7 separate regions of the Homo sapiens genome follow, and all the other regions are linked to region 2. Evidence: promoter capture Hi-C in human tissues and cell types (Jung and others, 2019). All regions are on one chromosome and are shown on one strand. The core of a region is centred on a gene start or on the middle of the fragment in contact, and the rest is flanking DNA. Distances in the headings are between cores, read along the strand shown. Region 1 overlaps LOC124904100 (a long non-coding RNA gene). Region 2 holds the start of KCNJ2 (potassium inwardly rectifying channel subfamily J member 2). Region 3 has its middle 390 kb from the start of KCNJ2. Region 4 has its middle 370 kb from the start of KCNJ2. Region 5 overlaps LINC01483 (long intergenic non-protein coding RNA 1483). Region 6 overlaps LINC01483 (long intergenic non-protein coding RNA 1483). Region 7 has its middle 440 kb from the start of KCNJ2.

Evidence for each region. Contacts are between HindIII fragments. The study calls those that stand out against the background at their distance.
Region 1: a fragment that was not itself captured here is called in contact with the fragment with the promoter of KCNJ2 in region 2 in 1 of the 25 tissues and cell types used here (hippocampus).
Region 3: a contact is called between a fragment that was not itself captured here and the fragment with the promoter of KCNJ2 in region 2, in 1 of the 25 tissues and cell types used here (dorsolateral prefrontal cortex).
Region 4: a contact is called between a fragment that was not itself captured here and the fragment with the promoter of KCNJ2 in region 2, in 1 of the 25 tissues and cell types used here (dorsolateral prefrontal cortex).
Region 5: a fragment that was not itself captured here is called in contact with the fragment with the promoter of KCNJ2 in region 2 in 1 of the 25 tissues and cell types used here (psoas muscle).
Region 6: a contact is called between a fragment that was not itself captured here and the fragment with the promoter of KCNJ2 in region 2, in 1 of the 25 tissues and cell types used here (heart left ventricle).
Region 7: a fragment that was not itself captured here is called in contact with the fragment with the promoter of KCNJ2 in region 2 in 1 of the 25 tissues and cell types used here (dorsolateral prefrontal cortex).

Annotation. Positions count from the first base shown.
Region 1 is chr17:70,498,280-70,501,739 of GRCh38, forward strand. All of the region lies in intron 1 of LOC124904100 (a long non-coding RNA gene), which reads left to right. Among named protein-coding and RNA genes, the nearest start is that of KCNJ2, 330 kb to the left of the region's middle. The HindIII fragment of the contact is 3,774 bases long and covers 278-3,460 here.
Region 2 is chr17:70,167,752-70,170,933 of GRCh38, forward strand. It overlaps KCNJ2 (potassium inwardly rectifying channel subfamily J member 2), which reads left to right and starts at 1,781. Exons shown (of 2, transcript NM_000891.3): 1 at 1,781-1,950. KCNJ2-AS1 (KCNJ2 antisense RNA 1) reads right to left here and starts at 1,651. Exons shown (of 1, transcript NR_036534.1): 1 at 1-1,651. RefSeq lists a silencer at 1,377-1,836. The HindIII fragment of the contact is 1,534 bases long and covers 387-1,920 here.
Region 3 is chr17:70,558,589-70,562,119 of GRCh38, forward strand. No RefSeq gene overlaps it. Among named protein-coding and RNA genes, the nearest start is that of KCNJ2, 390 kb to the left of the region's middle. The HindIII fragment of the contact is 5,665 bases long and covers 1-3,531 here.
Region 4 is chr17:70,539,418-70,542,541 of GRCh38, forward strand. No RefSeq gene overlaps it. Among named protein-coding and RNA genes, the nearest start is that of KCNJ2, 370 kb to the left of the region's middle. The HindIII fragment of the contact is 4,875 bases long and covers 1-3,124 here.
Region 5 is chr17:69,733,328-69,736,479 of GRCh38, forward strand. The region is part of intron 3 of LINC01483 (long intergenic non-protein coding RNA 1483); the gene reads left to right. Among named protein-coding and RNA genes, the nearest start is that of LINC01483, 140 kb to the left of the region's middle. The HindIII fragment of the contact is 5,215 bases long and covers 1-3,152 here.
Region 6 is chr17:69,714,726-69,718,212 of GRCh38, forward strand. The region is part of intron 3 of LINC01483 (long intergenic non-protein coding RNA 1483); the gene reads left to right. Among named protein-coding and RNA genes, the nearest start is that of LINC01483, 120 kb to the left of the region's middle. The HindIII fragment of the contact is 5,314 bases long and covers 1-3,487 here.
Region 7 is chr17:70,610,893-70,614,316 of GRCh38, forward strand. No RefSeq gene overlaps it. Among named protein-coding and RNA genes, the nearest start is that of KCNJ2, 440 kb to the left of the region's middle. The HindIII fragment of the contact is 7,463 bases long and covers 1-3,424 here.

The DNA of each region.
Region 1 (3,460 bases), core at 915-3,414, 330 kb after region 2:
AAAAGAATCGCATGCTGTCATTTATGCCAAATAAAGTATAAAAATTTGAAGAGCTTTACTTTTAACTTATTTCTAAAAAATTACATTTTGCTGCAAGGCTGACATAGATTTATATTTACCATGACTTTTGAGGCCCAACCTAAGAAAATGATGAATGTTAGGGCAGTCAAGCCTATGAAATTGTTTATCTGTGAAAGATTGTGTCTCAGTCCTAGTCTAGGCATTGTTTTCATTTTCACATTTTTTAAAGGTCTTACTATTTTTCGAAGTCATGTTTTTATCCTCTGCCAAATAACAGGCCTGTTGTTGTTTTACTCAGTTTTCTCTTTATAATTGCAGAAACTTTGAAAATAAAAAGGGTAATTATTTTCTGATGTCTAACAAGTGATTGACATACTACAAGAAAAATGAAAAATACTTTTTAAAAAAACTTTATAGACCGGAGATGGGATTTCAGAATCAAACGTGCTTGTGGATTTGGTTTTCATTGATGGGTTTTGCTCTTAGATTGTCCTTTTTCCACTCACAGTTCCAGGATTTCTTTCCAAAAATATCTTGTGAGGTCCAAATGGTAGCCAGAATTCTGTCTTTGTTTGATGAGCCTGTACATTTCTTAATCCAACACTTCTCTTGAAAAAGAAATACAGAAAGTATACTGTAGTTAATGGTAGTGGGGTATCCTACATTTTGTGGGGAAAATGGGAAGCTTGCCTGTCTGTTACTCTTTTTCATCCCTTGGCTGAAAGAAAAACAATCTAAACCCAAAGAACAAAAGAGAGCTTAGGAATCAGAACTTAGACCTGGGCTCTGGAGCCAGACTACTTCTTAGCTTTTTTTCCTGTGTGTCATTTTGTTTTTATACTATGTAAGTATATTTGTAAATAATAATCCAAGACTTTCAAAAGTACAGCAGTTCTGTAAAACAAATGTTCCTACAGTCAAAACATAACTTTCTCTTTTTATTGAGTAAGGCTCTGTGCACATCTGCTTATCAGCAGTCACTTTCTCAATGTTAGTTTCAAATGTACTCTGCGCCTTCTGTCTTTTCATCTGCACTGAATGCCTGTGTGTTCCTACGTTCTTAACTTCTGCATTATTTTCCTGTACTTCCTCCTCTATTTTTTTCTAAGAATGTAGTTGTTTGTAGTTAATGGTGCTTATAATTTGGAAACTCAAAATAGTAATATTGCTGATCAGCAACTAATTACTCTGAAGCTTGAAAAGTTTAATTAAATCACACATTCCTTGGAGGGTCCTGAGTCCTGGCTACTTACTTTCAAAGAGGCTCCTTGCTCCCTGCTGAGCTGATGGGATTTCAGTGACAACCTTCACTAAGCCTGAACTTATTGAATGCCTACACTGAATGTAATACTGCATGAGTAATTGAGGATGGTACCAAGTTATAGCTCATTGTCCTTATGCACCTGAATCTTATAGTCTTATAAACCTTCCCAGGGGTTGGGTAGAAGGAAGACTTATTCAGTTCAAGAGTGCATCATCATAATAATACAAAGAAGGAAGAGAAGGAGAAAAATAAATGTGGATTCTAATTCTGGAGAAATTTTTAGGAAAAAATATTCCTGAGGTCTGAGATAAACAAGGAGGTCTTCATTTACGAGTTGAAATTCCAAAAAGACATCAAAGGGAGGATGAGATTTGCATAGGAAAAGGAATAGAAATCATGTTAGTCCCATAGTTCATGTATCCACCTTCTCCTCTCTGTATTCAATCTACAAATATTTATTGCTATTATGTGCAGATCAGAAAACAAAGTCCTCACCCTAGGGAATCAGCAACAAAACTTATTGAGAATGCAAAGAAGAAAAACTGTTATATGCTAGAATTAAAGAAGTACAAAGATTTCTGAGAGCATAGAGAAAGAAGTAGACAGAAAACTTGCAGAAGACTTAATACTGAATATTTGAGGCAAGAGGAACCATGTGACTGAAACTATGTTTATTTAAAATATAAATTAAAGAACCAAGGCACAATTGCAGAACTTATGTGGAGTCAAAGATAATGAGAAAATCTTGGTTTTATTTTTGGTGCAGTAATTTTTTTAAGTGTTGAAAATTTTGTTAACGTTAAAGAGCTTTGCACTTACAAGACACTAAGATACAGGAGTGATGCTTCATAAAGAAGTTACCTGTCAGGGTTTGGGCATTAGTTTAGAAGTTGTGGAGCTTTGATTTATTTTGGTTAAATACTTTAAGAAATCACAATCTTGATCCAGGACTGATAAAAGTATTGCTAAATTTGAAAGATGCCTCTTCAAGATTAGAGTCATATATTCAGACATAGAACATTAGAAGATCCTGTATGGAAAATACATTCTAGTCTATTCTTACTAGTGGAAGAGCCCTAAGCCACAGTTCCCATTCATCGAGGTTCAATGCATCAAGTACTTCTCGAAGTGCACTTACATTTAGTAGCTGATTAAATTTTTCTGACAACAGAATTATTGTTACTATTATTTTTATCATCATCATCCCATTTTTATAAATCAGAAAGGGAACTGGGCCAGAGGGTAGTTAAGCAGTTTTCTTAAAGACTTACAGCTATTAGGTTGGTGCAAAAGCAATTGCGGTTTTGCCATTAGTAATTGCTTTGCCATTACTATGGTATTTTATTTTGCTGTTACTAATGCAAAAATCACAATTACTTTTGCACCAAACTAATGCTGATTTTGAGAGCCAGACCTGGAGTGTGGGGATACTAGAGCTAGTGCTTGAGTTCTAAGTTGTTCTGCTGCAACGGCTTGGACTTGAAAGCAGAGAGGAGGGGAGGAGGAGCAAAAAGACAGAGATCTCACCTTTGTGGCAGAGATAGAAGAAAGATAATATTTAGAAGTTTAGCTGTGCATTAAGAATGTCGTAGCCTCCTTTTTTCATTTTCTAAAGAAACTTGAAATTAAGATTTGAATTGCTTCCAAATATAAATGTGCTAGACAATTGTATTCCTGAAAGACAAGAAATGCTGAGTCCAAAGAATAACTGAGAAGTTCAGCTTTTATGATTTCTGTGTCCTGTAATTAGCTGCTTAGTAAGTGATTTCTAACCTTCAAGAAATATAGACCCTCCAATGACTGACAACTGTTAAAGTATGTGTTCTTAAAAAGTTAAATTGTTACATATACAGTAAACACATATAAAAGATTTCATTCTACTCATTAATTAATGATGAAAATACTAAAAGGTTAAAACTGGTTCAAATGAGAACGTGATTCGTGGAATGCATATTTTCTAACAGAGAAAGTTAATTTGCATTGCAATGAACAGGAAACATTTGCATTGCTTCTGATTTCCCACAGCTTAACTTCTACCCCTTCAAAATGGTCAAATAGCTAATAATGGCAAATCAATCACACATGCACACCTTTGTAGAATCAGACAATCCCTAGGGAGGGGCCTCAAGACAATGCCCAGATCTCCACTGAAAGGGCACCCAGTAGTCTCTCATG
Region 2 (3,182 bases), core at 531-3,030:
TCCAGGAGGAAGCATATTTCAGAAGAAGCTTATTGAACTGAGCGGTGAACTCATTCATTATCCTTTGGTTAATACAGAGTGAACTTGTCTACCCTCAGGTTCATTTAGCTTTAGGCTACAGCCTAGATTCTTAGACATCCGTCTATTTTACAGTATTAATTCAAGCTGTTTATAAATAACACATGACTAAATAGATGTTAAAGAAGACCTCCCTTGGGGCAGGCATTATTCCCACGTGCATGGCAACAGAGTTCGTAACAGGGCTTGGTGAACAGTATAATCTCAACACATTAACTGGGACCACATCGCCATTTGGCTATCAGAGCAGCCACACCGAGTGCATCATCTCTTGCACACCCTTTTAATTTAAGTACCTTGCTCAGTGCTAAGAAAAAAGGCACACTTGTTAAGGCAGGAGTAAGTGCGGATCTGCGAAACCTAAGCAAGCATATTTCACCAGCACCTCCTAGGGGCCACGTGTGGATATGAGGATGGGAGGTGGGGACTCGCACAGAACCTTTCCTTGAATTGTCAGTTTCACCTCTCCTACACACAAAAATCCACCCCGACTGCGCCGTCCACAATACCAGCTAGTTTGCTGAATTAGTTCAGCGACTCAAGGAGGCCTTACGAGGTTTAAATAAACTGCACAAAAGACACATTTGATCGCTCGAGAAAATAAACATTTAAAAAACTCAGTGGAAAGAAAGACTCCTAAAATATATCCTGTCCTTTAGGAGCAAAGCTTCGTTAGGACACCGAAGTACTCAGAAATAATAGGCACTTACTCTTCGGTTTACACACACACACACACACACACACACGGATTAGTTTATAAAGTTCCAGGATCCAGACCCGGTTAACACTGAAGTTGCTTTTTAGGGGTCTGCGCGCTCTCGCCTGGCTGCTGGGAAGGAGGGCTGGGAGGCGCTGAAGCGAGGGCAGATCTGAGTGTCTGTAGGAGTTGCTATTCCAAAAAAAATCATTACTCTCTAATTGTTCTGATTTTAGATCAGCAAAGCGTGCCGGGCGGTGGTGGAGAGACTGAGGGCGGACAAGGCGAGAGGGAACGAGCCGTCCACCCTTCGGAGAAGCCTAGGCGCCTTGTAAGTAATTCGCGAACAGTCGGGAGAACAAACAGCCAAGCGGCGCTGCAGTGGCCGCACTTGCGCGCGTCTCAATCCTGGGGGCTCTGCGCGCCCGCCCCAGTCCCTCGCCCCATTGACTCAGTGGCTTCTCCGGGCGCTGCAGCCTCCGCGGGGGGCTTCGAAGGGCCGAGGGGCTCCGGCAGAGAGGGAGTGGAGAGGGAGACGCGCCGGGACCGACGAACAATCCTGCCCCTGCGGCAAAGGTCTCTACCCGGCGCTGGCACCTCGCAGGCCCCTCGAGGAGCACGCAGGGCAAGCGGCCCAAGAGCGGGGGAACCGGGAAGTGTGTGGGGCTCCAGACGGAGTAGGAAGCTTTGCCCAAGGCCAGGCTGCAATCAGGCAGCCGCAACAGCCGGGCGCGGAGCTTCCCACCTGCTGCTGTCCCAGCTGGGCCGCAACTTCCTCCTCCCCGGCCCGGGCCCGACTCCCCGGCCGGGCTCCGAGGGTGGAGGGGGACGAGGCGGCGGCAGGTTCCCTCCGCTGGCAACGCCTCGCAGCATCCTCCCCTCCCCGCCGCGGTTCCCGGGGCCGGCCGCGCGGCCAGGCGCGCTGCGATTGGCCGGCAGCGGCCGGGGGCGGGGCCAGGAGAGCCGGTGTCGCACGGACCGCCTCAAAAGAGCCCAGGATATTGCAGAGCGCACTGGAGCCCTGGCCAGCGCGCAGCCTTCCCGGCGCCGGCGGGCTGGGTCTTGGGAATTCTGGTTTGCTTTGGCTCACTCGCTTTTTACAAACCACTGGATCTTACATGCCTCTGTACCCCCCACTTCCACTCCATGTCCCCATGCTCCTGCGCCAGCAACAGGTAAGGGCTGCTGTGTTTTCTTCCTTTTCGCTCGCTGCCGGTGTGTCCTGGGGAATGGACTCTGGCCGCCGTCCCCTACCCTACCCTGCCCCGCTGCTCCAGAGGTGCCCAGCTGTCACACTGCTGTAGCGCTCACCCACACTCCGGAGTCCCAGATCATGCCTATATAGTTTGTGTGCGCACCAGAACATCCCCAGAGCTAAAAATACTGAGACATGCTTGGAACAGTTGAGCAATAGAAACAGATTTCTCTGCAGCATCTGTTTGTGCTCATAACTTCCAATGCACCAGCTGTAGCGAGATACTGGGTTTGGAGGCAAGGGCGAGAGCGTCTGTGTTCGGTTCTCACTCTAAGTGGGGAAAAAAAGAAAGAAAACGTGGTTGCGGGTTTGGGGGTGCGTCTTGAGCCCTGGTCTTAAACCTTGGCAAAGCTTGGGACTCAGCACTATTCTTGATCCTTGGCTTTTTTTTTTTTTCGTCATTGCTTCAAGTATAGCTGTGAGTTTCAAACAGAGTGAGTGTCTCAAAGTTGCCTTCCTGAAAGAAGAGCGGGAGCCCGAGTTGGATTTGAGCCTGAGGATCGCAAAACTTTCACATTACATATCACTCTCCCCTAACCAATTTGTTATTTTCAGTAATAATGGTATTAATACCTGGCTTGAAGACAGTGTGGTTTTAGGAAAGCAAAATAGTCAAAACGACTTGATTCTGCAAAAAGATTGCATCATAGCGTGGATTCATCATGACAATTGGAAAAAAAATAGGGATAGGGAATGGGCAGTTTAATGTCTGTGTCTGGGTAAGGATATCATAGGATGATCACTAGGATAAAAGGCTGTGAATTCCGACGATTTTCATAAATTCAGATTTTACCTGTTAGGAAATAAGGTGTTATTTGAAAACCTCGGATATGCAAAGAAACCATATTGCGTTTTATCATTTGTTTTCTTTTCACATTAATAATCAATAGGCTGCCAGATTTCCTCTCGCCAACCAATGTTGTGTGTCTGCTGTACATTATCTGTACACTTGTTAGCGTTTTCCTGCTCACTTCCAAATGTTTCATTTCTATTTGCCATTATCTGGAAAAATCCTGGTGCTCAGAAGGGGTAAGAGATGTTAATTGAAGCATGGTGGAAAGGGTGAGGATAAGGTCAAGGCCATTTTACTTAGCTTCCTCCTCTCTCATATTTTAATGACACTTTATTTTTTAATGTTCTTGGTCTCCATAA
Region 3 (3,531 bases), core at 900-3,399, 390 kb after region 2:
TAGTGACAGAAAGTGATCATGAGACATTTTCTTTGATGCTACTTAAGTATATGCATTTGAGTATATGCATACATATTTTAAAGATGGCATCTAAAGTGGTCTTTCTAAAACAAAAATATAATCATAAAAATCTCATGCCCAAAAAGTTTATACTCTAAAAGGCTCACCATTTCAAACAGATAACATCCGCCTAATCTTTAACATGGCTAACCCAATTTTTCATATCGACTTCTCTGACTTCTCTTGGCTTATCTTTCTTTTGGATTCCTTACCCAAACCTTTATATATTCATGTACACCTCACTAATTATCCACAGTTTTCTTATTATTCATTAAATTCCCCACTTGGTCTCCTTCTTACATGTTCTCCCCAATCTGGTTAGAGATCTCTCCTACTTCCTCCCAAAGCACCATGTGTTTCCTTCAGCTTAGCAGTTACCACATTCCTTGGTAAGTACTAATCAATTTGTATGTTTACCGGACTCAGACTGTGACGACAAGGACCTTATTTATCCCCACTGTAAAGTCTTGTGCCTGGAATACAACCGAATCTGAATATCTGTTTTCTGTATAACTAATTCTATCATGGATGAGATTTTTATAATTATTAATGTGATGTTTCTTCTTTTGCTATTTTATTTATAAGGCTTTTTGTCTTTATGAATGTACAATTGGGACCTCTGTTTGTGTGAGAAAATTAAGATTTATTATATAAAGTATTCATGAAAAATGCTGCATGTTAGAATATTAATTCATCTTCTAACATGCAGTATGTGAGTATGTGTGTTTATACTGTATATGTATTCTTTATGCAGATATAGAAAGTAAGCTAATATTGACTTCCCTCTTTTTTGTCATTATAAGGTTTTATAGGAAACCAAGTGTTTTCTCAAGAAAAACTAAGAATCACCTTAAAAATTAGTTTGAGTTACCCAATTGTATATTAGTTATATTATTTTACTCTGCTACCCATGAGGCAAGGTTAAAGACAGAAGGCTAGATAAGTGATTCACAAAAATAAAGATAATAGAATATATATATAATATATATATACATCTCCAAGTTGTACTGTGAGTTTAAATATATGACCCACTTACTAATCAATCAATGGAGAAAAGCTATGACATATTTTTAAGGTGACATGTTAGAGGTATTTCATGAATATTTGAGATTTGATAAGACACACATATTAGGTATTAGCTAAGTATTCCTAATTATTAATGTAAACTAGACTAGAATGTGCATTAGAAAGAGTAGTAGATATATTGTCACAAAAGCTGAGTGCGAAAAGCAACACCAGCAACTTCCAGGGTGATGCCGAATATATTATTGCAGGCTTGAGTTCCCTCATCTCTAAAATAAAAGAATTGGAACAGCTGATTCATATGTTAGGCTAATATTCTATGCTCTTCCCTGAACTGAAAAGCCTCTTTAAAAGTTTTTTTAATGTAATGATTTAGCTATAATACTGCCTTTAAAAAGGGATTGACAGAGGAAGCATTTGAATTTCAATCTGGCCTTACATGCATTTCTTTTGAAAAGTCATTAGAAATGTCTTTAGAAAGGTACTATGTGTTTTTAAGGGCAACATATTAGTTATTGTAGTTTTTGAGCACATTTCCATAACACATGTGTTGTGGGGTGTTACCACCACCCCAATCAAAACATAAAATGTTTCCATCTTCTCATAACCTTTCCTCTCACTACATTTGGTCAATCCTCTTGTACTCTATCACCATGGATGAATTTTATCTATTTTAGAACTTCATATAAATTGATTCATGTAGTATGTTCTCTTTTGTCTCATACTTCCCTCATTCAAAATAATGTCTTTGAGAATTAGTTTGTGTTATTTGCCTATCAGTTGCTTGTATGTTTTTTAATTTTTATTTTTCAACTTAGTAGTCTTCCATTGTATACATATACCACAATTTATTTCTCCATTCACTTGTTGATAAACATTTAGTTTTTTTTTCTGATATTTGGTAATTATAAATAAAAATGCTAGAAAAATTCTTGAACAAGTTTTTTTGGGAGACACATGTTTTTATTCTTCTAGGATAAACATCTGAGAGTGGAATTGTTGAGTCATGGACTTAACACATTTTTAAAATAAAATTTTAAAGTAAAAATAATTTAAAAAAGAAAAGATCTTTCATGAATTTAGTAGTTTATTTCTGAGTGTAATCGACTTCATTATTTTGGCCTTTTTTTTGATGGGGGGGTGGTGGCTGGAGACTTGCCTAACTTATGGGAATCTGGAATTGCCCTTGGCATTGCATGTGGCAACACAATGGTACAGAAGCTTTTGTGAAAGTTTTTGTTTCCATGAATGATGGGAACTGCCAAAATTGAGAATTATGCACTCTGAGTGAACTTTCACATAGCTTAGGTTGGCATCACCAAGTGAGAAGCCCAGGACTTAAAAAATAAGGTAAAACAAGACAGGAGGTTTTTGTTTTGTTTTTCCTAGACTATGGCTCAAGGACCACCTGAACGGAAATCCCCTGGGTAGCTGATTAGGCATACTTTTTTTTTTTTTTTTTTTCGAGATGGAGTCTTGCTGTGTCACCCAGGTTGAGTGCAATGGCATGATCTCAGTTCACTGTAACTTCTGCCTCCTGGGTTCAAGCGATTCTCGTGCCTCAGCCTCCCGCGTAGCTGGGATTACAGGCACCCGCCACCAAGCCCGGCTAATGTTTGTATTTTTATTTTAGTAGAGATAGGGTTCTGCCATGCTGGCCAGGCTGGCCTGGAACTCCTGACCTCAGGTGATCTGCTCACCTCGGCCTCCCAAAGTGCTGGGATCACAGGCATGAGCTACCATGCCCGGCCTAGACGCACTTTTTAACAAGCATGTAAGAGACTCTTACACATAGTGAAATGTAAGAATTGCTAGATCAATCTAAACCAGAGATCCTCTGCTGTGGCGGCACATTTGCATCACCAAGGGAGCTTTCAAAATTGCCATGCCCTTGACATGCCTAAGACCAATTAAGTCAGGATCTCTAGGCATGACCACCAGATATCAGTATTATTTAAGTCTCCCCAAGTAGTTACAATGAGTAGCCAAGGATGAGATCTTCTGGTCTATTCTATGTCATCCTTAGCACATCTGAGAGCTCCACTGCCTGCATGTCTGATGTTTTGTTGTACAACTACGTCATTCTGACAATATTTCAAAGCATTGAAAGAACATTTATTTCCTTTGTACAAAATGCCTTGAGCAAGCAAGATTGTCTCAGGTGCATTTGCCGTAATTGCTTGCCTTGGTCTTATTACCTTGTGAAAAATTATGTATCTTTAATCTATGCTTTGGGTGGCAAAATTAATTAATAATTAACTTTGTACTTACCTAATAAAATAATGTTGATGTAAAGTCCTCTAAGTAGTCCTCTCACTTACTAATTTTATCTATGTATTGGCATGAATATCTTGGTTGAACCAAAGAAATAAAACCTAAAATATATGCCTCACAAAAATGTGCTTTATTTAAGTAGATTCAATGAATGAGATATCAGCTCTCCTCAAA
Region 4 (3,124 bases), core at 474-2,973, 370 kb after region 2:
CTCAGAACCTTCAACCTACAACTTTTTCTTCATCTCAGAACACGTCTTAGAAGATATGAGTCTCCAAAATAGCAGAGGGGAATGTTTTACTTAAAAAATGTGTGTGAGATCACTGTACATAAAGTTATTCACATGATAATGGATACAGAACTCCATTGATGAAAAACGTTAGGAATTTTCTCATATATTTAAATGTTTGATAAGTTATTTTCTTTATTTTGGTGACCAGAATGCACACAAATGGTTGCATAATTTATGTAGATATATGCAAAAGCTCTGCCAACAGGTACTTGTGGGAGAATCAAAGTCTGCTCTATCCATGCATTCCTTTTACATTCCTTTTACTTCCACCTCCACTTCTTATTTCTTTCTTTTTTTTTTTTTTTTTTTTTTTGGAGACGGAGTCTCACTCTGTTACCCAGGCTGGAGTGCAGTGGCACAATCTTGGCTCACTGCAACCTCCACCTCTCCACCTCCCGGGTTCAAGCAATTCTCCTGCCTCCGCCTCCCGAGTAGCTGGGACGACAGGCCCACGCTGCCACACCCGGCTAATTTTTTGTATTTTAGTAGAGATGGGTTTTCACCGTGTTGCCCAGGCTGGTCTCCCAAAGTGCTAGGATTATGGGCATGAGCCACTGTGCCCGGCCTCACCTCCACTTCTTAACAAGTACTCTATGCTCTAAGTTCATTATTTTCTCCCACTGGGCTCCCTTTGCTATTGTACTTCTACTCAGTTATTGCTCCCGTTTTTATTATCTGCCTCCTTATTCTTCTTGTAACCGAAGCATTCTCTCTGTAGGTCCAAAATAAAGTCCAAGGACTAGCAGACACTTTCCTTTTCAGGACACAATATGTTATCTCATCCCTGGAATACCTAGGATACATCGCACACTCCGTGCACGGTGTGTGTGTGTGTGTGTGTGTGTGTCTGTGGTCTGCGTGTGTATGCTTCTTTGTTATGCATTGTTAATTTCTTTCACTACAAGTATTTTAAGTTTTTTGAACAAAAAGAACTATATTTCAATAATAGTTATCATCTACTGAACATCTGAGAGTAGCAACAAATGTTAGAGTGAACATTGTAAAATAATTAAAAGGACCAAATTACACTTTCTTACCTGCCTTTTTTTTTTTTTTTTTTTTGAGATGGAGTCACTCTGTTGCCCAGGCTGGAGTACAGTGGCGTGATATCGGCTCACTGCAGCCTCTGCCTCCTGGGTTCAAGCAATTCTCTTGCCTCAGCCTCCCAAGTAGCTGGGATTACAGACCACGCACCACCACACCTGGCTAATTTTTTTTTTTGTATTTTTAGTAGAGACAGGGTTTTGCCATTTTTTCTGTAATATTGAGTAGACATCTGGCCCATTCACATACCTAATAGTAAATGTTATAATGTAAAAAAAAAAAAAAAAAAATACTAGTTTCTACAAATATTGTCTCTTTTACTTTTATAGCCAGAGAATCACTTTCTTATAGTTAGATATGGTATTGTAACTAGTTCTGGCTAATGGAATGTAAGCAAAGTGTTATGTGCAACATTTTTTCAAAGGTTTAGGGCAAGATCTTCATCCTTTATGGCTGGGGTACAATCAATCATTTCGGACCAGAAATGAACATGGGATCTGCATGGCTTCATATTATCAGCCATGGACAATATCATTTGAGAAAAGGATTGTTAAAAATTAATCATAGAAACAAACAAAATTTTATTCTATTTTGTTTAAGCCACTGTTAGTTTGGGTTTCTGAGATTCACTGCTGAATGTTATTCTGATACCTCCACTTCAACCTACGATGTGTAATTCCCAGTTTACCTGGGACAGTCCTGAATTACAGTGATGTCTTGTAATTTTTCTGCTACTTCCCAGGACCCTCAAAAGTACCTGGCTTAGGTGATATGTTATATAGTGATGCTTCTTAATTCTCTAGACTCCGAATGTTATTAGCTACAGCAACATTTATCGAAGTAACATTTTTCCTAGGAGTTTAAATGTAAAACAGCTAAAGACAAAGTTACTCTGGGTCAGACATGTCTGGAAGAGCTACAGTTCTCCCTAATACCTACAGACCACAAACTGGGCCTGAACTGGTATCTATATATGTGTGTGTTGGTGGGGGTGATATCTATTTATTCATTTGTTTATTTTTTTTCCACTGGATAGGAATTTCTAACAATTAAAATATGTTATTGTTCTTAGAGCTAAACATAATGATAAATGTAAGGGAGACATAAGGAAGATCCTACATATAGTTTTTGTTTGTTTGTTTGTTTGTTTGAGACAGAGTCTCACTCTGTTGTGCAGGCTGGAGTGCAATGGTGTGATTTTGGCTCACTGCAGCCTCTGCCTCCCAGGCTCAAGCAATTCTCCTGTCTCAGTCTCCTGAATAGCTGGGATTACAGGTGCGCACTGCCCTGCCCGAATAATTTTTTGTATTTTTAGTAGAGCCAGGGGCTTCACCGTGTTCCCCAGGCTGGTCTTGAACTCCTGAGCTCAGGCAATCCACCCGCCTTGATCTCCAAAAGTGCTAGGAGTACAAGCATGAGCCACCGCACCTGGCCCCTGGTGTATAGTTTTAGAGACTCCTTTTCAATTGTGTCAGAAGTGTTTGAACCAGAGCAACTCCATCTTGAGTAGGGGCTAGGTAAAATGAGGCAGAAATCTACTAGGCTGCATTCCCAGATGCTTAGGCATTCTAAATGATGGATGGGATAGGAGATCGGCACAAGATACAGTTCATAAAGACCTTGCTGATAAAACAGGTTGCAATTAAGAACCTGGCTAAAACCCACCAAAACCAAAATGGTCACGAGAGTGACCTCTGGTCATCCTCACTGCTACACTCCCACCAGTGCTGTGACAGTTTACACATGCCAAGGCAACATCAGGAAGTTACCCTATATGGTCTAAAAAGGGGAGGCATGAATACTCCACCCCTTGTTTAGCATGTCATCAAGGAATAACCATAAAAATAAGAAACCAGCAGCCCTTGGGTCTGCTGTGTCTATGGAGTAGCCATTCTTTTATTCCTTTACTTTCTTAATAAACTTGCGTTCACTTTACTCTCTGGATTCTCCCTGAATTCGTCTTTCTTGAGCGAAAGCCAAGACCCTCTCTTGGGATCTG
Region 5 (3,152 bases), core at 209-2,708, 430 kb before region 2:
CTGAATTCCAGTTGGCCAATCTCCATTCCTTCCCAAAAGTGTTGAACTGGTAACCTGCTCACCCTCATTCCTCTTGGAATTTACAGATGTGTGCCGGACAGTGTGGGAAACAGTGTTTTACAGCAGCAATTAGTTTATTCCTGGGGTAAACAGTAGAACTTTAGGGATAATTGCAGCAAGAAATTTGTTCCCTATTGCAGTGTGAATAACCTACAGGCAGCCAGTTGGCTGCTTGCCCTACAAATCCCAAAAAGGACATTGGCAACTGTTTTGCATTTGTGCCCAGTAGGGATTTGCAGATGCACAGTGGGGAGAGGAGAAAAGATGGGCTGTGTTTTTACCAATGTTTGCAAAGCCAAGGATGGCTTTCCAGGACAGGTTAATTCAGAAGCGGGAAATTTGGGTTTGTGTAAGGGGACAGCTTGCTTCTCTTTAAGATGGAAGCTGCAGCTCGAGTGCCAGTTGGCAGCTCCTGAGTCTGCTATAGGGCCAACACACATGCAGGCAGCAGAGTCACTTAATCCCTTTGACTTTGCTATTTCCTGCCTATGACTGTACTAAGCTTGTTGAAGCCTGAAGCAACATGTGACTATGAGATTGTGGGCAGCCAGGAGCCAGTCTTCCACAGCCTTGGACAAACTGACTGTACCACCCTCTACAATTTGCTTCCTAGCCAAGGTTGGCTATTTCCCCAAATTTCTCTTTCAGGTGTGGCATTATAGAGACCATTATTACTGTTGTTGCTGCATTTAAGAGAACACAGACACAATAGTTTCCAGCTTGCTTTTGTACATAGTTTCCCTAAATATGTTACTATCTCCAGTGCAGGCTCCAATTTGAAATGTCATCACAGGCAGCAGCAATGTCACATATTTTTATGGCATTTTCTCTTATGATCGTTGTGTAATTATACTTTAATATTTAGGTGTGGACATTAAGGAAGGGGTTATTTCTGTCATACAGAAGGGAAAAATTACTAGGAAAATACATAAAAAGTTAACTTTGTAGTTGATGTTGGAGATAGTGATTTCTATTACTACAGATCATTTAATCTTTCCTTGTGAGTGGGAGAAGTGCAGTCTTGCTTTATTAATTGCTAATAATTTTCCCATATAAACTCAGAGAACCTCAAAAGTGGTTACTGTGCCTTCTGTATCTCTTGCCTCCTAATTGATTTCCCTGCATCCGTCCCTGGGTCCCTTTCCCCTATCCTCAATCTGTTCTATATACATGGCAATTCTAATCATGACAAGCTTAAATTAATTTAATACTATCCTATTATCTTTGGGATAAAGATCACACGTGCTTCCTGAGGTCAGCCTTCTTAGCATGGCCGAAAAGGTCCTACCTGATTTGGCACCAGTATCATCTCTCAGGCACTCACAAACCCATTCTCCACAATTCAGTCTTTTCTGCTGGTCTTTTCTTCTGATTGTCTAATGCATGTGATTCTTCTTGCCACAAGACCATTGCACATTCCATTCCAGCTTCCTGGAATGCTCTTCCCACTGGTCTCTGTAAAAGTTAACTGCTTCTTATCCTTCAAATCTCAGCTCATGCTTACTCTCTTCCCTAATTTCCAGACTTACTCAGATTACCCTGTCACTCCCTCAAACAGCATCTGTAAATCTCCTTCTTAACTCTGATCACAATCTGTCATCCTACAAGATGACTTTGTAGGATGACTTTGTAGGGAGTACTTAGCTGATGCCTACTTTTCCTCCTCAATAAAGACAAGGACTCTATTTCCAGCACTATCATGACCCTGGTGGAGGAAGACCGTGGTGAACTCTATGCAAAGAAAGCATGAATCAAGTCAAGAAGGAGGTGCCAAATTTAAAGTTAAAAAGAAGCAGAATGAAAAGCAACTGAGGAAAACAATTCTAAAGGGGCTTTAAAGCAAACAAGTCAAGATCAGTATCAATTTTAGTTTGAAGGAGCTGATGGACAAGATGTGAATTTCCAGTGAAGCAGGCTCTGAACTTCATTTTGAAGTTAAAAATTGACTCGGGTTCAGAGACAGCATTAGAGAGGTAGGATCACTCATCTCCAAACAAAGGGCATTTTCTTTTATTTATATATATATATAAAACAGATATATAAATATATTATATATATTTAATAATATATATTTAATATTTATATGATATATATTATATATAATTTATATATTACATATATATTACATATATATACAAATATATATAAAATATATATATATATTACAAGTTATTGGGGTGCAGGTGGTATTTGGTTACATGAGTAAGTTCTTTAGTGGTGATTTGTGAGATTTTGGTGCATCCATCACCCAAGCAGTATATACTGCACTATGTTTGTAGTCTTTTATCCCTCGCCCCATCCCACTCTTCCCCCAAAGTCCATTGTATCATTCTTATGCCTTTGCATCCTCATAGCTTAGCTCCCACATATCAGTGAGGACATACAATGTTTGGTTTTCCATTCCTGAGTTATTTCACTTAGAATAATAGTCTCCAATCTCAGCCAGGTCGCTGTGAATGGCATTAATTCATTCCTTTTTATGGCTGAGTAGTATTCCATCATATAAATATACCACAATTTCTTTATCCACTCGTTGACTGATGGGCATTTGGGTTAGTCTGATGATTTTGTAATTACGAATTGTGCTGCTATAAACATGCATGTGCAAGTATCTTTTTGTATAATGACTTCTTTTCTTCTGGGTAGGCACCCAGTAGTAGGATTGCCAGATCAAATGGTTTTCTACTTTTCATTCTTTAAGGAATCTCCACACTGTTTTCCATAGGGGTAGTACTAGTTTACATTTCCACCAACAGTGTTGAAGTGTTCCCTGTTCACTGCATCCACACCAATATCTACTGTTTTTTGATTTTTTTATTATGCTCATTCTTGCAGGAGTAAGGTGATATTGCATTGTGGTTTTGAGTTGCATTTCCCTGATTATTAGTGATGTTGAGCATTTTTTTATGTTTGTTGGCCATTTGTATATCTTTTTTGAGAATTGTCTATTCATGTTCTTAGCCCACTTTTCAATGGGATTGTTTGTTTTTTTCTTACTAGTTTGTTTGAGTTCATTGTAGATTCTCAATATTAGTCTTTTGTCAGATGTATAGATTGTGATTTTCTCTCACTTTGTGGGTTGTCTGTTTACT
Region 6 (3,487 bases), core at 448-2,947, 450 kb before region 2:
AGCTGCAACTTTGAACTGGTGAATGCTGTTTCTTAGTACAGTCATTCAGTGATGTGTTTTCAGGATCTGAATCAAAAGAACATTTTTCTGCAATCTACACAAACCTGTTTGGCACGTGCTCTTGTTTATGGAAAATCCAAATGTATATTTGTGTTCTTTTGGAAGGGGTGGGAGTTGGAAGGGAGCTCACACAGGAGATTAAGACTTTATCTTTCCACTCGGCAAGCTGAATTCTTAAAGTCCTATCTGATTTCATAAAGTAAGCAGAAGTTGGAGCTCAGTCTAGACTCTGGCTGACCAGCAGACAAAAGAAAGGTATACACTCAGCTGAGGGCCAGTAGCAGACTCTACTTGAAGGATGATCTGGAGTGGAAGAAGAAATCGGGCCACGATGAAGATGCCTTTTCCTTCACTGAGTAACTACCCTTTGCTGGTCACTTCATACATACTATCTCATTCATTTCTCGTTACTCCAAGAGGTAGCTATGACTATGAAAAGTACACAGATGAAACAGGCTCAGAGAGCTATTTGCCTGATATTCCACAGCTGAGAAATGGTAGCATCAGGACCACAATAACATGTAACACATCAAAATATATTTTTTATAATTTTCACTATGGAAAATCTCATATGCATAGAAGAGTTGAAAGCACATCACAATTAACTTTCCTGAACGCATCGCTGAGTTTCAAAAATTATTAACTCATAAACAATTCTATTCATCTCTACCAGCCTTACTCCAGTCCTTCCCCACATAGCAGATGCTATGATGTGTTATAGATAGCATATTTCATTATATATTTCCAAAAGAGAAATATTTGTTTAATGTATAGTGAAAACATCACTTTATACCTAAATTAAAACAATGATTTTTAAAAACTACCATCTAATATCCAGTTGGTGTCTGAATTTGTTTGATTATGGGGCTGTGATTTTAACACAGGTCTACACTAAGAGTTTGAGGTACAAGCGTGTGATAAGGTTGGTAGATGTAGTTGACCCCCTCTGAAAATCTTGCCACAACAATTTTGTCTTAAATTCTTCAAATAGAAACCTGCCTTTGGGTCCCTTGGGTCCCTCAGAAGCAAGTGCCTCATAGGTTTCTGTATTAGTCAGATTTCTCACTGCCATAAAGAAATACCTGAGACTGGGTAATATATAAAGAAAAGAGGTTTAATTGAGTCACAGTTCCACATGGCTGGGGAGGCCTCAGGAAACTTACAATCATGGCGGAAGAGGAAGAGGCACATCTTACATGGTGGTGGGTGAGAGAGAGTGAGCAGGGAAAACTGCCTTGTAAAACCATCAGATCTCGTGCGAACTCACTATCACAAGAACAGATGGGGGAAACCGTGCCCATGATCAAATCATCTCCCACCTGGTCCCTCCCTCAACATGTGGGGATTATGGAGATTACAATTCGAGATGAGATTTCGGTGGGGACACAGAGCCAAAGCATAACAGTTTCCATTCTGTGTTTAACAAGACAGATGTAACAAGTAAAGGACACTAGGAAAATATATGATTCAGCTCCTTGCCTCAGTCCCTCCAACAGATAATGGGTTTCTGGTGGAAGAGAAGAAGTGTGGTATGGAGAGGAAGGGTGACAAATCATTCCCCAGCTGTAAAAAGGTAGGCATTTTTACTCTAAGCCAGGAAATAATATAACTCATGATCACGTTGTTCTTGTCAACATGAAGTTAAGAAATGATTATGTAAAGGAATAAAACATGATCTGTGTTCTAGCTGTTTAGTTGGGTTTTATTGCCATTTCTAATAAAAGATTTCAGCTAAAGCATTAGATCAGTAGCCTTTGATTTCTAAACTTAGGTAGAAATCCAGTTTTGTTCTTTGATTCTCTTTCCGTGCATTCCTGGAATTCATGAGTTTTGCCCTGAACTTTCTGGAAGCAAGGGCTGAAGTCCGGACATGACTTTTCAATTAATACAAACCGTAGTCTCTGGTTCTCCTCGATGTTAGCATGTGACATGACTGGAGGCCTTTATTTTGCTTAGTGCAGTGACCAAGCAAATGAGTGCATGCTCCTGAATATTTAACAAGCGTGACAGCCTGTGTGGCTGGAGTTGCAGCTGGCTATGCTTAGCTTTTTAATCTAGGTGCTTTCTCAACTGATAATGCATGTTTTACCCCATTAGACTGGATTTTGTCACGTCACATCAGGAATGTGATTGTGCTTTTGGATTTCAGGCAGGGAAAAAGAGTTACACACAAGACCAGCTGTATAATTTGCAGGGCCTCGTGCTGGCCTTGTGTGCAACTATTCAAACATTAAGAATTTCAAGGAACCATCAGCAGAGCCCTTTTAAGATTGGAGACTTGTGTAGCACATATATGAAATTGACTCTGATCACAGAGCACATAGCATCCAGCTGGAAACGAACAGGTTAATCTTTGTGGTGCTTCTAAAATGGGGGAAAATAACAGAGAGCTGAGAGTTTAACTCAGTTTAGTTGCAGAGTTATAGATGACAAGCAAAGGGTCCAGTGATCCAAGACGGTCCAGGTGAGAGTAGTGAGAAAATGTCTCAGGTCTCCTGAGATTATTTTGACTAAGTTCATGAGCATGTTCCCCTAATCTATGTAGGTTAGACAGAGCAAGGTCAGCAGTTACCTGGTGGTAAATTAAAGCCCAGGTAACAAGTAAATACAAAGGCAAGATCAAAGCAAAGGCCCTGAGGGAGAGGACCTGTCTGAAAAGCAGAGGGAAAGTATATTCTTTTCACCCACCTCTCTCTCCTGCTTCCAGCCCCTTCAGCAGTTTTCCTTAGAGAGAAAAAAATGTTAACAGCCAAACAAAAGGCCCGAAGCAGATTTTTTTTTCACAGCCTGTGAGCTGATCTTGAACTTTCCAGGGGTTTGTGCTTCATAGAAAAAACATTTAGGCATTTCCTCCATGTTTTTGTATCTGGAAAGGGAGGCCTCTCTTTCCAAGTGTTGACTGACATCTTAGAGCTTATTTCTTTCCAGTTAAAGTGGAAAATATCAACTAAGATTTCAAAGAAAAGGAAATGTAATGTATTTTCTCATCAAATTTGGCATTATCTATTTGCCAGGCAGGCCTTTAATCTTCAGTGCAGTATTTTTCCATTGTATAATTCTGAGTTCGCCTTAAATCTGTCTCTTTCAACTTCGCTTTTCTAAAATACGAATGTGATTTGCCCAACTTATCTTCTTTTCTCATTTGTTTCCTCGATACTTTTGATTATCACTTGCTAGGGTTTCTCTAGAGAAGCTCACTATTTTGCCTCTGCAAATATTGAGTGTAACACAGATAAAGCTTCTTTGTTAGTGTGAATTCATTAATGACCTTGATAAAAAGAACTTTCCATGTCCAGCATGCTGGGAGGACTAAAATGATTTGGGGCCTGTTGATATGAACATACAAATAAGAAAAGTACAATAATAGGCCTTAAAAGTCTCATTAAGTTTTTAAATGGGAAGGAAAGCCAGTCACTTCTGTTCCAGA
Region 7 (3,424 bases), core at 799-3,298, 440 kb after region 2:
ATTGTTCTCTAGCACAAAAGGGATTTGCCAGATATGAAGGTAGGTCACTTTCTGGAGATGGGACAAAGCCTACATATATACACAAAACCTTTCAAAACTTATGTGTGTATATATATATATATATATGTGTGTGTGTGTGTGTGTATATATGTATATATATGTATAATGTATATATATAAGTATATATGTGTGTATATGTACACCTATATATGTATCAGTATACATATATCAGTATACATATATTTATATAGAGTTTATATATGATATATATACTAATATAATAATATACTGATGTATTAGTATATATCATATATAATATGTATACTAATATATTAGTGTATATATCTTATATAATGATTATATGTTAGTATATATAAGTATATATTATATATATTAGTATATATATTAATATATATTATTAATTATCTTCTGCAAACCTTTCTAAGTTGCTGCATGGATTCTGTAATTCCGGACTTCTTTTCCCCTTTACTGTCAATCCTAAGGCAACAGGAATACTTAACAACAACAGTTATTTTGAAAGGATGCTTCTTGGCCCTTCTCGCTAACTGCTTAAATCATTCCTCTGTGTTAAGAAATGAAAAAAAAAATCCTTACTCAATTCCTGGTGGTTTCTAGTTGATTGACTTCTAATGAGCTATCTGGCATCAGCAGCTCCATGAGGCTGAAAAGATTTTTCCCATTCTCTGATTTAGGCCAGTCTTGCGTTCAGTTTGAACATTTTTGCATAGCTCATTCAATGCACGAAAATGAATATAGACCACAAAGAAATGTTCTTTAAAAACTATGTCAGAGACAAAGATGTCTTATATCATTTTTAATCCATCACTACAAATAAATATAAATGGGCTGGGCGTGGTGACTCATGCCTGTAATCCCAGCACTTTGGGAGGCCAAGGCAGGAGGATCACTTGAGGTCAGGAGTTTGAAACCAGTCTGGCTCGTTTCACCCTGAAACCCCATCTGTACCAAAAAATACAAAAAATTATCCAGGCGTGATGATGCATGCCTGTAGTCCCAGCTACTCAGGAGGCTGAGGCATGAGAATCACTTGAACCCAGGAAGTGGAGGCCGAAGTGAGCAGAGATCATGCCACTGCACTCCAGTCTGGGTGGCAGTGTGAGACCCTGTATAAAAAATAATTATGCGTGTGTGTGTGTGTGTGTGTGTGTGTGTATATATGTATATGTGTGTGTGTGTGTTTGTGTGTGTGTGGTAATTAACAACATACATAATACTTAACCAAGCCCCTTATTTTTTCCACTTTTACCACACAAGTTACTTGAAGAGAAATTGTTGTCATTTTTCATGATCATTTCCTCACCATAGGGAGTTAGAAGCATAAATAGACATTTGCAATAACCCCATCCTCCCAAACGTCCTCTTCTCCAGCTCCCAAGTTTCTTCTTTTGCTCTTTTCTTCCTGTTCCCTCTTTCCATTTCTCAATCTCTGTTTGAGTTAACATTAGCTTAGAAGAGCAATGGATTCTGAGACCTTCTACGCATTCTAGTTCGTTTTGTTACCAAATAAGTACTTAATTCGTTGAAAGAAAGAATCTGATTTCATTAATGAGGAAATAAAGTATGTGTTCAACCCAGGAACAAGAAAAGAACAAAAAATCAGCAAGATGGCTATAAGGGTAGGTTATAGAACCAGACAGGTGGCTTCAAATATGGGCCCCTTTCCTTTGCTAATGACGTGAACTTGGTTGACTTGTTCACACTCAAAAGACTCAATCTTTTCATCTGCCAAATGGGATTCATGTCAGTTTTCTAGGAAATCAGCAGGCTTAATAAATAGCATCCCTCTTTCCCATCCATGTTCTAAAAATGTTGAGAAAGTGTGAAAAAAAGAAGCAGATGGGGTCAAAATTTTCACCTTGATTCATGATAACTACTAAGTGAGATGATGTAGCTTAGTGTCTGAGCCAAATAAACCTACCAAGTAAATATGAGACTGAGACACTTAACCACCTGCACATGCCAGACCAGACCTGAAATGCAAAGACCACAAAGGTTACACATCGGGCATGGAGGTACGTCACCTACTGACTTTTTGATGGGAGAGGAGGAGAAGAAGAAGTAAATAAAAGAAAAAAGGAAGAGCTGAAGTCAGTACACCCAAATTATTGTCCTCAAATTTACTAGTTCGATGAATCATCTTATTACTTCTGGTAAAATAGTGATTAAAGGTTAGAAAAAGACAGAAGTGTTTATATCGGGGGAAACTTCAGGGGCTGGAAAGAACTATTCCCCCATAATTTTCCCCCAGGTTTCTGAGGTCTTAACCCTTTGTGTCTAGACATTGCACTCATCATCAGTCAATAAGCCGCTACCCACTCAGGGAAGGAGAGCAGCATTTTTTTTTACAACAGCCTTGTGTCCAGGTTCTTGTACTTTTCCAATACCAGCCATACCTCCACTGGGTTGTCTCCTAGACCTACAAGTGGCTGTTTTACATTTTGTTCCCAGAAGACTCTGGAATGAGTCACAATAAAATGTTAAATAAATGGACTCTAAGGTGGTATTTTACCCAAAGCTGAAAATTCATACCCTGATCTCTTTCTTAACCTCGAACTATGTCCAGCCATATTATTCAATGTAGCCTACTAGGGCACTGCAAAAAGTTTGAATGTAAACCTCATGAGTCAATAATAAAATTTCTCCCAACTAGGGATTCCAGAAAGAAGTTAATTCAAGTAGTCTTTTGCTTGTTAAAGTTTGTTTCTTATATATAATAGTCCAAAAGAACCCCCCATCGAATTCTTTTTTATTTGCAAATTACAGATAATTTTGCAAATGTAAGATTATATATATATATATGTATATGGTCATGTGCCACATAATGACGTTTCAGTCAAGGATGGACCACATGTATGAAAGTAGTCCCATAAGATTATAATGGAGCTGAAAAATTGCTATAGCCTGCTGACTTCTTAGCCTTTGTAGTCATATCACAATGCATTAGTCACATGTTTGTGGTGATGCTGGTATAAACACAACTATTGCTCTGCCAGTCTTACAAAAGTCTAGCACAGGCAACTATGTATAGTACATAATACTAGACTGTTATAATAAATTACTATGTTACTGGTTTATGTATTTACTGTGTTATATTTTTATGGTTATTTTAAAGTATACTCCTACTTACAAAAAATATGTTAACTGTAAAACAGCCTCAGGCAGGTCCTTGTAGGAGGGATTCCAGAAGAAGGCATTGTTATCATAGAAGATGACAGGTTCATGCATGTTATTGCCCCTGAAGACAGCGGGACAAGAGGTGAAGAAGAAAAACAGTGATATTGATGACCATGACTGTGTGTTGTCTCAGGCTACTGTGTGTGTTTGTGTTTTAGTCTTTAACAAAAATGTTTTAAAATTAAAAAATAAAATAAAAAGAAGAAAG